Linked DNA regions of Homo sapiens: regions 1, 3 and 4 are each linked to region 2. The links are contacts of gene promoters, found by promoter capture Hi-C in human tissues and cell types (Jung and others, 2019). All regions are on one chromosome and are shown on one strand. The core of a region is centred on a gene start or on the middle of the fragment in contact, and the rest is flanking DNA. Distances in the headings are between cores, read along the strand shown. Region 1 overlaps TSC1 (TSC complex subunit 1). Region 2 holds the start of TTF1 (transcription termination factor 1). Region 3 has its middle 37 kb from the start of RAPGEF1. Region 4 holds the start of TSC1 (TSC complex subunit 1).

Region 1 (3,093 bases), core at 1-2,500, 520 kb after region 2:
ACTATACTCATAAAACCATTTCATTCAAATCCTTACAAACATCCTACCTTGAGACATTTTAGTAAAGAAGGCAAAAGAGGTGCTTGAGAGAGCTTATGCTTCCAAGATGGCTGCAGTCTTATGACATGACCCAGTAACGAGAGGATGGATAAACGAGTGGCGGCTTTGCCCACATATTCGTTAATCCTGTCCAAGAGGTGCTGAAAATGTAAAAGAACAAGGGCAGTCCTCACATGAATGTATGAAGTTAACACAAATAAAGACAGCAATGATGTGCTCCAATCTCTCAAGTCTTGTCTCTAATGTAAAGCAAGGGTCATGCAGATAAAAGGTCAAATTCAAGATTTTAAAAACCACGTTAGCAAACAAAACACTGCTGCATTTGGCCTGACAAAAGGCAGCCAGTTTGCAGCTCATGAAAAAGGACCCTACAATACACGCATGCAGAAAGGGGGAGACTTGTTCACAGCCCCTCAATAACCAACAGTCCCAAACTGTGATAGGTTACTGAAGCCATGAGGGGATCCTGCTGGAAGCAGCCACTTATTGCTAGAGCAACCCAGCCTACATGGTTTGGCCTCAAGTATCAATTAGGTAGTAGAAGTTACATTTCAGACCAGAGTAAACAAAAAAACAAGACGGGCCAGGCGCAGTGGCTCATGCCGGCAATCCCTGCACTTTGGGAGGCTGAGGCAGGAGGATAGCTTGAGGCCAGGAGTTCAAGGTTACAGTGAGCTATGATTGTGCCACCACGCTCCAGTCTAGGGAACACAATGAGACCTCACCTCTTTAGAAAACAAAACAAAACAAGATGTACTGTAAAAGGCATGCAATACAAGGTCTTCAAATCCTGGGGAAGTTGCTCTCATATATACACTTAAGACTTACCAAAGTCTGCAATAACAATGCTTTATTAGCTACTTACTAAAAACAAAAGGAAAACATGAAGGAGCCCTCCAAGTGCCGGGTGCTAGGAAACAAGACTCATTAATTTGTCATGTTAGTCCTTTGTACTTGAAGCTTTTCCATATCGATAAAAGTCTAAAAATTCTATTCAAAGTATGGGTTGAAAGATGGGTACCTATGGGCCAAATCATCACTATACAATTATAGTACTGGAAATGTAAGATTTCTTTAAACAAGATCTTTTTTTTTTTTGAGACAGTTTCACTCTTGTTGCCCTGGAGTGCAATGGTGCAATCTCAGGTCACTGCAACCTCCGCCTCCCAGGTTCAAGCGATTCTCCTGCCTCAGCTTCCTGAGTAGCTGAGATTATAGGTGTCCACCACCACGCCCAGCTAATTTTTTGTATTTTTTAGTAGAGACGGGGTTTCACTGTGTTGGCCAGGCTGGTCTCAAACTCGTGACCTCAGGCAATCCACCCGCCTCGGCCTCCTAAGGGGATTACAGGCGTGAGCCACCACACCCGGCCCAAACAAGATCTTTAACAGTCTCTGAAATATGTTTTATTTTGTAAACTTTTCAAGAATCATGGGTCCTACAAAGTAATTTTTATATGTAGTTATAAACTGGGAACAATGTCATCAGTGGCGCACAGAAATCAAAAGAATAAGCTCAGGACAAGTTGCACAGTGGCCGTGCACAGAAGCTGTTGTACTCATGAAGAACATATGAAATGCCTATGATATTTCAGCCATTACCTTGTCATGTGGCTCTTGCAAGGTGGTCAGGATGTGCAATGCCGGCTGAGAGCTGGTTTCCAGGTAATAATCCACCAAGGTGTTTACAAGCATAGGGCCACGGTCTAAATCAAGAAAAGGGCAATGGATGATACTTATTCCCCTTAACATCCTAAATTTACCTTACACAGCTTCCTGTCACAAAATCCAGAAAATGTTTCTTTATATGCTATTCTAAGTTTTGTGCAGCATTACAGTTCTGCCTTCTTAATTTAATAATAAGATATTCCAAGCTTATTTGCCTAAATATGCATAAAAACATATGAAGTCATTTTTATTGCCTTTTTTTTTTTTTTTTTTTTGAGATGGAGTCTCACTCTGTTGCCAGGCTGGAGTGCAGTGGCACAATCTCAGCTCACTGCAACCTCTGCCTCCTGGGTTCAAGCAATTCTCGTGCCTCAGCCTCCCAAGTAGCTAGCTGGGATTACAGGCACCTGCCACCACGCCTGGCTAATTTTTGTATTTTTACTAGAGATGGGGTTTCACCACATTGGCCAACATGGTCTCAATCTCCTGACCTTGTGATCCGCCCGCCTCGGCCTCCCCAAGTGCTGGGATTACAGGCGTGAGCCGCCACACCTGGCCCTTTATTGCTTTTTTAATTACAAAAAATAATCCATATCTACTGTTAAACATTCAGGCTATGTAAAAGTACATAAAATAAAAATGAAAGTGCTCCTCACCACCTGCCTCCCAACCCACTCTTCACAGATAAACACCCTTAAGTTTAGAGTGTGTCTCTTCAAACCCTTTTCTACTTGTATAACCACACGCACACAGCCCTCATGTCCACAGACACAGACACAGTTTGTGCATGTGTGTGTTTTTTCCACTGAACAGTATGTTGTAACCACCTTCCCACGTCAGCATCTATGGCCTATTTCATTTCTTTCCGTCCTCCTAGTGTTCCACTGCATGGCTCTACATAACTAATTTAACCATTCACCTACTGAAGGATACTTGGGTTTTTCCAATTCTTCACTGTATTTCACTCAAAGCTGTAATAAGATACAGATTCTTATAAATGGCCCAAATGGTATGTGTTTTAAAATTGATGACTGATGCTCCAAAAGGCTGAACATCAATTCATATTCCTGCTAACAGTGCCCATTTCTATATTCAATATTTAATTTTGCCAACCTGGTAAGCAAAAAAGGGTACTATTTAAATTTGTATTTCTCATATTAAAAAGAGGTTAAGCACTTTTCATATTAAAAACCACATATATGATTTACAGTTAAAGCAACATCTGGAATTTGCTTTAAAATATTTGGAGGGTGGGAGAGTCAGGGAGGAAAGAATTTGAAACTGGATTCATGGGGTTCACTGCATGATTCTTACTTCATGTGTGTGCATACTTGAGTATTTCCATAATTGAAAGTTTAAAACACAT
Region 2 (3,180 bases), core at 650-3,149:
AGTGGCGTGATCTCAGCTCACTGCAAGCTCTGCCTCCCGGGTTCACGCCATTCTCCTGCCTCAGCCTCCCGAGTAGCTGGGACTACAGGTGCCCGCCACGACGCCAGGCTAATTTTTTTGTATTTTTTAGTAGAGACGGAGTTTCACCGTGTTAGCCAGGATGGTCTCGATCTCCTGACCTTGTGATCCAACCGCCTCGGCCTCCCAAAGTGCTGGGATTACAGGCGTGAGCCACCCACTGGCTGATTTCTTTTCTTTTCTTTTTTTCTTTTTCTTTTTTTGGAGACAGAATCTCGTTCTGTCACCCAGGCTGGAGTGCAGTGGCACGATCTCGGCTCACTGCAACCTCCGCCTCCCGGGTTCAAGCGATTCTCCTGCCTCAGCCTCCGGAGTAGTAGCTGGGATTACAGGCGCAAGCCACCAAGCCTGGCTAATCTTTGTATTTTTAGTAGAGACGGGGTTTCGCCATGTTGGCCAGGCTGGTCTTGAACTCCTGACCTCAGGTGACCCACCTGCCTCGGCCTCTCAAAGCGCTGGGATTACAGGCGTAAGCCACAGCGCCCGGCCTTGATTTCTTTAAATAACATTTCCCCTTCCATCAGTTCCTTTCCTTCTTTTTTGTAAATACTTCCTAGGCTGCTCTCTGGTCTCTGGAGCCCAGTACAACCTTCTAAATATATAGTCTCTCCCTGCTAAAAACTTTTTAGGGTTCCCCTGTTATTCTTAAGATAAAGTCAAAATCCTCACAGACCTGCAAGAGTCTTCATTTCTTCATAATCTAGCCTAGAGATGGACAGAGGTAAGTCCATGCCCACCTCTCTACCTCTCACTTCTCTCTAGGTTTCAGAAACCCTGCTGTTTTCAGTTCCTAGAATACACTACCTTCCTTTTCGTCTCAGGAACTTTGCAAAAACAGCCCATTCCATCAGGAAAGCTCTTCCTCCGCATTACCTTTCTGCCCTTTAACTGGTCCAAGTATGAAAGCCACTTTCTCAAGAGGACCTCTCTAACTCCTTAGCCGGTCTCATCTTTCTGGTTAACAGTGTTTCCCAACAACCAGCTGCTCCCCATTGCACTTTTGGCAGTTATAATATGATCGGCTTCTTGAGGGCTGGAATCCTGGCCATCTTGCTCCCAAATGGCTCCCCAGTCAGTGCTCGATACATATTGAGAACGGATATGCATTTATCCCCCCTTACTCAGAACATACACTTCCCGCTCTGCAGGTACGTGCCCAAACCTGGTCCCGGATTCTCTCACCGCCTTTGGGGTGCGAGAGAGACCCCGCTCTGCTCCCGGGTGGGCGCTCCAGGGCTGAGACTGGAGGAACTAACCAGATGTGAATTCTGCATCTTCTCACTCCCAAAGACCCAAGCCGCGGCCGGGCGCGGTGGCTCACGCTTGTCATCCCAGCACTTTGAGAGGCCGAGGCGGGTGGATCACCTGAAGTCAGGAGTTCGAGACCAGCCTGGCCAACATGGTGAAACCCTGTCTCTACTAAAAATACAAAAATTAGCTAGGCTTGGTGGCGGGCGCCTATAATCCCAGCTACTCGGGAGGCTGAGGCAGGAGAATCGCTTGAACCCAGGAAGCGGAGGTTGCAGTGAGCCGAGATCGCGCCACCGCACTCCAGCCTGGGCGACAAGAGCAAAACTCCATCTTTAAAAAAAAAAAAAAAAAACACCCAAGCCTCAGTTTCCCCGAGATAAGGCCTGGGGCAAAGACCGCGGCCTGGAGACCTCAGGCCAAAAGGCGGGTCTCCCAGAAGACGGGGAAACCCACCACCCCACGCTGAGTTTTTACGCGCGCATTTTGAAAAACAGAAACAACAAAGGCGCTTTCAACTTACCCTCCGAAAGCGCCGCCACCTTTCTCCCAACCCGGAAGTGCTGCTGTTGAGGAAGCGGAAGTAGTAGTGCGTCGCCTTCCGGCCCCCTCGGCGTCACGCTGCCATGGTAACACGGCTGCCGCTAGGCCTTGGAGGCGCGCACATTTGCCTACCCATTTTCCTTCTGGGTCCTTTAGACGTCAGGTGGGGTAGAGAGTGCTCCTGAAACGAAGAAAGTAGGACAGAATCCCCCTCCATTGACGTACTAATGCATGCGTGCATTCCATTTATTCCAGTTTTTGGTGAACTCCAGGAACAACTTGGGAAGACAGATGACAAATCAACTAAGATAATTTCAGATTATCTTGTAAGGAAAATAAAACAGGGTGACGTGATGGAGAGTGACTAGGGGACGGTGGGTGCTACTTTAGATGTAAGAGAGGGCTCACTGAGGAGGTGACATTTGAACTGAGTTCTAAATGGAAAGGGCAGGCAAAAAATCTAGGCAGAAGAGTGTTCCAGGCTGGAAGTGAGTGCAAAAGTCCTGAACTTGGTTGCTGGAGGACCTGGGACAAGGCCAGAGCAGCTGGAGCACAGAGTGAATCCACACAGTGAACCCACAGGGTGACAGACAGGTCGCACACGCCCAGCCTAAGTGAATGCATGTGAATGCAGGGGAGGGGGTGGGAGAGGAAGTCAGAGGTCTGCAGGGGCTATCTGGTGCAGAGGCTGATGGATGTTAAGCTTGGATGAAGTCTCAGAAGTTTAGAGTTAGCAGGAGCTTTGGAGATCTATCCCAGTCTTCCCATTTCAACAGAGTCCTGAAGAGACTTAGCCAAAAGGGCAGCTTTAACCTGGCCATCAATTCGAGGCCATTATATTTACCAACCAAACGTTTAACCTTTTTGGATAGTGAACATATACGATATAGGCAACAAGTTTTCTCACTTAATCCTTGTAATGAGGTATTATTAGCCCCACCTTGTGGATGAGAAACCTGGGTTTACAGTAACTTGTCCAAGGTGACTTAAATGGGCCAGCCAGAAATCAGACCTATGCTCTTTCTACTACTCCACTATCTTGCCCCTCACTGTTCCACCTGACTTCTATGTGATCTGCCAAGTGGCTTTGATTAAAAAATGCACAAACTATGCTTCCGTGAAAGTCTGGAAGGGAAGCAGGTTGGAGAAACGATGAGCCTATGTATGTACTCATGTTGCCATGCAAGGGCTGCTCTGGGATGTGGACGTGCAGTTGGAGCTCCGTCTGGAGAAGTCTGTAAATGTGGTGTTGTCCACTGTTGATATGGAAGGCCTTGAAGTCCAGGTCCGTCATTGGTGTCACGTGTTCTG
Region 3 (2,922 bases), core at 236-2,735, 630 kb before region 2:
GAATGACCTATACTTTTGGGGCTGTGGGGGCCTCCCTGCCACTTCCTCCTTCTGTTACGGTGGCATCACCTGTCCTTGCCACCTTCCCACCTGCCCCAGATTGCACACCTGCCCCCAGTGCAGCTCTGCCCCAGTGAGGAACTCTGCCCACTTGGCTGGTCCGTTCTGACAGAGGACTTTCTGTTTGCTGGGCAACCAGAGGCAGAGTGACCCTGGCCTTCTGGAGGGCCACAGCCTAGGGCTAGAAGGAGGAGTGACAGGAGGGCAACAGCTCATGTAGGTCACAGAGTGTGAGCTTGAAAGGGACTTGAGAGACCATTAGGTCCACTGCCCCTTCCCTGCTTCTCAGAAGGGGATTCCCCAAGACCAGCCTTGAAACCAGTAGACTAACTGATCAGTTGAATAATTTTAACACCCACCACTTACATGTTGGATGCTTACTGCATGGTATGCACTTCACTGGGTCCTATTATCTGTTAGCACCACAATGAGCCCATGAAGTGGGTGTCCTTTGTGCGGTTGAGAAAGTGGAGGCTACAGGAGGCTATGCCACTTTCCCAAGACCTAACCTCTGGTTAGCAAGAGAGAGAGTGGAACTTGAACCCAGGGATGGTAGATTCCCAAGTGCAAGTCTGAAGGCTGCCCCACCCAGCCCACCTCCTGAGAGATGAGAACACCCAGCCGTGGGGGCCTCATAAGAATTCAGCAAAGGAGCCATTCCTGGTGTCCCAGGCCAGCCCCAGCTCCCTCCCCTCCCTGAACAAGGACAGAATGCCTGCAGTTCCCCATGGAGTGGCAGGATGGCACATCCCTGTGGGGAGCCTGCAGCCTTGGGCCTCAGCCACTGGGTCTGTGCCAGCCCTACCACGGGCATCATTTGAGAATGTCAGCGAGGCCCTCACTCCCTGCAGCAGGCTTGCTGGCTCTTTATGCCAATATTTTTGTGGGACATCCACTCTGCCCAGATCTGTACTTGGTGCTGACCCCCTGTCCTTCAAGTGTCGTCTGTCCAGTCCAGAAAAGAGCCCAAGACCCATGACAATCCTTTTGGGATATAAAGGATCTAAGAAGGCAGCCAGCAGGAGCCCTGGAGACCATCTGATCTGTCCTGCCCATCTTTCAGACGGGGAGCCTGGGGCTCGGAAATAGGGTAGGACTTGCCCAGGGCCTCACAATCCACCATTGGGCAGGCCGGGATGTGAACCTCAGGCCTCAAGCGGTGCAGGACCCTGGACAGCTCCCAGGCTCTGAGAGACTCCAGGCCTGGGTTCATGGTGAAGCTTGGGCCTGGAGTCCCCACCCCAGAGGGGAGGGACTGCACACGTTTCCCACCTGGCCTTCTGGTGACCAGTCATAGGATGTGCAGTAGCAGAACAGCAGAGGTGACACTCCGAGAGCCAAGTCCCTTCCCCCGGGAGAAGTGGTACCAATGGTCAGACTGTGAGGAAAGGGATGTGACACCAAACCAGAGAGGTCAGGCGCAGTGGCTCATGCCTATAATCACAGTACTTTGGGAGGCCGAGGCGGGTGAGTCAACTGAAGTCAGGGGTTCGAGACCAGCCTGTCCAACATGGTGAAACCCCTTCTCTACTAAAAATACAAAAATTAGCCAGGCATGGTGATGTGCACCTGTAATCCCAGCTGCTTGGGAGGCTGAGGCAGGGAAATTGCTTGAACCTGGGAGGCGGTAGTTGCAGTGAGCTGAGATTGTGCCACTGCACTCTAGCCTGGGAGACAGAGAGAGACTACGTCTCAAAAAAAAAAAAAAAAAAAAAAAAGAAAGAAGAAGAAAAAAGAAAACAACAACAACAACAACACACACACAAAAAAACAGAGAGAGCCCAAAACAGTAGAAGCACCTCACAGCCCAGAGCAGGAATGCATCAGGTCAAAGGCTGCACCATGAAACTGATAACTGAGAACATAAGCGGTGCATTTCAGAGAGACTTGATTTTCTCCCTCTTCTTCCTCTTCCAGCCACTTATATTTCATTCCTTCAAGGAGGTACCTTCAGTTATCTAGAAAATGCACCATACGCCAGGGCACAGTGGCTCACACCTGTAGTCTCAGCATTTTGGGAGGCCAAGGCAGGAGAATTGCTTGAGCCCAGAAGTTTGAGACCAGCCTGGGCAACAAGGTGAAACCTCGTCTCTACAAAAAATACAAAAATTAGTGGAGTGTGATGGTGCCAGCTACTTGTGGAGGCTGAAGCCAGAGGATCCCTTGCACCCCAGAGGTTGAGGCTGCTGTGAGCTGTGTTCGTGCCACTGCACTCCAGCTTGGGTAAAAAACAAGACCGTGTCTCAAGAAAAGGAAAGAAAATGCACCATATGAGGCCTCTCTTTTCTCAAAGATGCCATGTTGTCTGAACACTTTTCACATCTGCAATTAAATGATTATGTGCTTAACACCTAACTCTTGCCAAACCACCAGTCCTACAAGGGCATGGGCCCCATCTGCCTCTTTTCCAGCTGCATCTGAGTGCCTGGCACAGGGCCTGCCCCAGAGTAGTTGCCTGATCAACTTATCTTGGGTGAAGGAGTGAATGGAGGAAACAGTGCAGTGTCCTTCTGATAGGCTCAGCAGCTTGAGGGGCAGCTGGGTGCCCGCTGCCCCTGGAGTTCTTGCAGCTCTCCAGGGCCATGAAGCTAGACATAGATGCAGTGTGTCAGCTCCCTAGACCTCATGCAGGGATGCCTGTTCAAACAGGGAATGCTGGGTTCTAGATCCCAGCACTCCTTCCCAGGGAGTGACCTTATTAGGCTGGTAGGGGATAAAAGATGACAAAGGGGCCAGGCAAAGTGGTACGTGCCTGTAATCCCAGCACTTTGGTAGGCTGAGGCAGGTAGCTCATTTGAGGTCAGGGGGTCAAGACCAGCCTAGCTAACATAGAGAAATCCCATCTCTGCTAAAAATACAAAA
Region 4 (3,333 bases), core at 834-3,333, 540 kb after region 2:
CACAACAGTAGCAGTATCAGTTTTTACTCTTAACCCAGTGAGGAAGAGGACAACTGAGTCACAGGACCTGAAGCACTCTAATTTTATGGAAACAAGAAGGCTGGTAGCCACCTGCTTTCTAACCAGGAATTTAGGAACGTACCAAGTGTTTATGACACCAGGAAATGCATGCAGCAGAGAAAGTTTACATCATCTGCCCTTCTAGGCACGTGATATAAGAGTGTTTTGGATAAGATATTAACTTTAGTAAGAGGATATTTTCCGTTTACATCTTCTATAAATACCCCTTAAGTTTACACCAGGTGGTTAGAGGAAGATTCTGCAGCTCCCTAGGGCAATAGCAAAGAATGTTTCACTGTTTCTGAGGAGCCTCATTTGCCTGATGCATGACTGTTAAAGGTGCATTTCCCTACACAACCCTAAATCAGTTTTCACATTTGCATATTCCAGATTTACTCAGGAATGTTCAATTTAAGAATCACAGGTGGTTGCTCGGTAAATCAAAGGCTCCCCAAAGATTAGGTTTTATAATGCTTCCTGAAATTTACAGCTCCACTTTGCCGGCCTGTTTGAATTCAGATGACTCCAAGTTGATCCCAAAATTATAAATCAAAGTATCTCAGAAGAGTATTATTCTATTTTAGCACTTTTATAGCTTACTCTATGCAACGTGAAGTGTTATTTGTATGCTTTCTATTTAAAAAAAAAAAAAAGCCAGCAAGGATTTTAGCAGGACTTCTTTCTTCAGTAAACTCATCAGTTTTATTAAACTATCAAATACTTTTTAGCCTAATTTAGACTAACAAGTTCACATGCACAACACTGCCATCCCAAACAAAAGCTAAGGCGGATAAGCCAAGTGCATCCCCCCACTTCAACATTAAACAGACACACGTGCATAAACCTTGGCTAAATGATAAATTTTAATCACTTACAGGCCAGCTTTGATCAAATAACAGATAAATTTAAGAGTCATATCTTTGGAGTCAGTCAGATCCCAGCAGTTCCAGTCCTGGCTCAGATACAATTGGGGTGTGAACTTAGGCAAAGTACCCTGCTCTCTCCGGGCCTCAGTTTCTTCATTTGAGAAGATTGGAGGTGTTAACAGTGGCTGCCTCTTCTCTTTGTCGTGAGGACCAAAGGAGATAATGACTGCCAAGCACTTTCACAGTGCCTGGCACACAGAGAGCACTCCATTAACGTTAGCTGTTGTTCTTAGGAGGACCGCGTCCCCTCCCAAGTCCTCACCACACATCCAAAACACACAAAGCAAAACTCTTTAACAGGAAACACAAAGAAAGAGCTTTAATTCTACAAGGTCCCTCCGATTGCAGGCTCTTCATCCTCCAGTTCCTCAAATGAATGAATGAACGCCTAGGAGGGGCTCTGCAAATAGCTGTCTCTTAGGAATCCCCTTTGCCCACTTTAAGGTAACTGTCTTTCACCACCAATTAAACACCCACAAGTACACCCAGAGCGAGTCATGCAAATTTCAGCGGAGACACCGAATCCAGGCGAGTCCTTGATCCCCACAGGCGACCTCCATTCATTCTCCACGCCCCTATACCCCGACCCCTCTCTTTAAGTTCTGGGACCAGCCCCACCCTCGCGACCCTTCCCCTCCCGCCAAGCGTCTCTACCCTGCCCTCCGCACCTAGCGTGAACCTGTCACCCCACCAAGTGAGGGACTGACGAAGGGGCCCACCTCGCCCCTGCCCGAGGGACCGAGGCCCAGGGTGCAGCCGTCCCCTCGGGGGCCAAGGAGGGGCGAAGTGCTCCGTCCGGCTCGCCTCTCCTCCCCAGGGACCCGCCAGTCCCGGCCGGGCCAGCCGGAGATAGCGTGTAATAAGAGGGAGGGGAGAGCTCTCCGAACCCCCCTTCCCCGGGATCCCTACCAAGCAAGTGAGTCTCTTGCTCCAGCCCCTCCGAGCCTCCCCGGCTGGAGTCATGGTGCCGGGGCTGCCCCAGGAAGCCCCCATAAAAAGGAGGGGGAGACACCCCCATACTCACCCACCGTCTCCTCCCCCTCAGCTGTTTACCTCACAGTCCCTCCAGCCTACAGGGCGCCGCCATCTTGGACGTACAGCACCTCCCCCGTCGTGAAAGGGCCAAGGCCGACGGCGGCCTCCGCCACGAAAAAGAGTCCCCCTCCGGACCTCCCCTCCTTCTCGAAAGGAAGGATAGACGGCCGCGCTCGGCAGCCCCGCCGGAAGGAAGAGGCTCTTCCACTCATAACTGACGATGTGGGTTGGACGAGAAAAAAAGTAAGGAGGGTTTTTATGGAGGGGGGCGGGGCCGGGCGGAAGGATCCGAAAGGAGGCTGCGAAGAGATCTTGTGACTCCGCGAAGGAGGCAAAAAGAAGGGCCGGCGCGGCGGGAGGAGCCACGCGAGAGCCCGAGGGGGCGGGGCGGGCGGTCACGTGACTGGCGGGCGGGGGGACGCGGCGGAGAGGCGTAAACAAGCTGGCGGCGCCTGGGTGTGGTTGGAGCGCCCTGCCCCTGCCCCCCGAGTCGTTTCTGCCCTTCGCTTGCGTGGCGCCCTCCGAGGGTCTCTCTGTGGGCGGCCTCAGAGCAGCGATCCTGTTTCCCAAGGAGCTGCTGGGGCCCGCGTGGGTGAAGGGCCTGCTTGGGAGCTTTGGAGTTGCAGCTCACCTGGGAAGGGGCGGAAAGCTGCGGGCCAGGGCAGCCCTCCTTCCTGGGCTAAACATTTTCAGAAGCCCGCCTCCGGGATTGCGGGGGACCCCCCTGGCTTCTGCCTTCAAGTAGCTCACACTTCACACCTACTCATGACATCTAGGGGAAACCAGCCCTAATAGGAGACAGCTTGAAAATCAGAACGCCTTATTCCGTTTCCTGCTGAAACAAGGCTTTAAGTCCTCCAAGCCTCAGTTTCTTCCTCTGTGAAATGGGCATAATGACATCTGTGACGTGAAGAATCAAGGAGATGAAGTATGGACAGCGTTTAGCCCAGAGTCCTGCGCCTAGTAAATGCTCACTCACTAGATAGGTGGCCTTTATTGCGAGGCTGAGTATGATGGGCTCCATCCAGCACGAACACAAAGCCCTGTGAGAGGAGGCAGAGTGAGATGAAGTCGAACTGTGGGATATGAAAGGCATTTTGAAGGAGTAGGCATCAGGTTGGGTTTTAAAGGAAATGTAGGTTTTGTGAAATACTAGGTCGGTGCAAAAGTCATCACGGTTTTTACCATTAAAACCGCGATGACTTTTGCATCAACCTAATAGAACCAGGCGAGGCGGCTCGGGAGAGAAGGCCATTCCAGGCAGAGGGAACCAAAGGAGCAAGAGCCTAGGGGCAAAAAAGTGTTGGGTGAG

Evidence for each region. The method cuts DNA at HindIII sites, captures the fragments that hold promoters and counts their contacts. A contact is called where the count stands out against the background at its distance.
Region 1: a contact is called between a fragment that was not itself captured here and the fragment with the promoter of TTF1 in region 2, in 1 of the 25 tissues and cell types used here (mesenchymal stem cells).
Region 3: a contact is called between a fragment that was not itself captured here and the fragment with the promoter of TTF1 in region 2, in 2 of the 25 tissues and cell types used here (lymphoblastoid cells and mesenchymal stem cells).
Region 4: the fragment with the promoter of TSC1 here is called in contact with the fragment with the promoter of TTF1 in region 2 in 1 of the 25 tissues and cell types used here (lymphoblastoid cells).

The regions. Positions count from the first base shown.
Region 1 is chr9:132,925,540-132,928,632 of GRCh38, forward strand. TSC1 (TSC complex subunit 1) reads right to left here. Exons shown (of 23, transcript NM_000368.5): 4 at 1,662-1,765; 5 at 48-200. Among named protein-coding and RNA genes, the nearest start is that of TSC1, 18 kb to the right of the region's middle. The HindIII fragment of the contact is 3,992 bases long and covers 1-3,093 here.
Region 2 is chr9:132,404,941-132,408,120 of GRCh38, forward strand. It overlaps TTF1 (transcription termination factor 1), which reads right to left and starts at 1,900. Exons shown (of 11, transcript NM_007344.4): 1 at 1,850-1,900. The HindIII fragment of the contact is 7,318 bases long and covers 1-2,957 here.
Region 3 is chr9:131,775,443-131,778,364 of GRCh38, forward strand. No RefSeq gene overlaps it. Among named protein-coding and RNA genes, the nearest start is that of RAPGEF1, 37 kb to the left of the region's middle. The HindIII fragment of the contact is 5,957 bases long and covers 1-2,922 here.
Region 4 is chr9:132,942,533-132,945,865 of GRCh38, forward strand. TSC1 (TSC complex subunit 1) reads right to left here and starts at 2,084. Exons shown (of 23, transcript NM_000368.5): 1 at 2,011-2,084. MIR548AW (microRNA 548aw) reads left to right here and starts at 3,175; the gene lies at 3,175-3,239. It also overlaps a transcript of GFI1B not described here. RefSeq lists silencers at 1,692-1,751, 1,812-1,871, 2,402-2,481 and enhancers at 1,956-2,689, 2,002-2,301, 2,662-2,801. The HindIII fragment of the contact is 11,354 bases long and covers 1-3,333 here.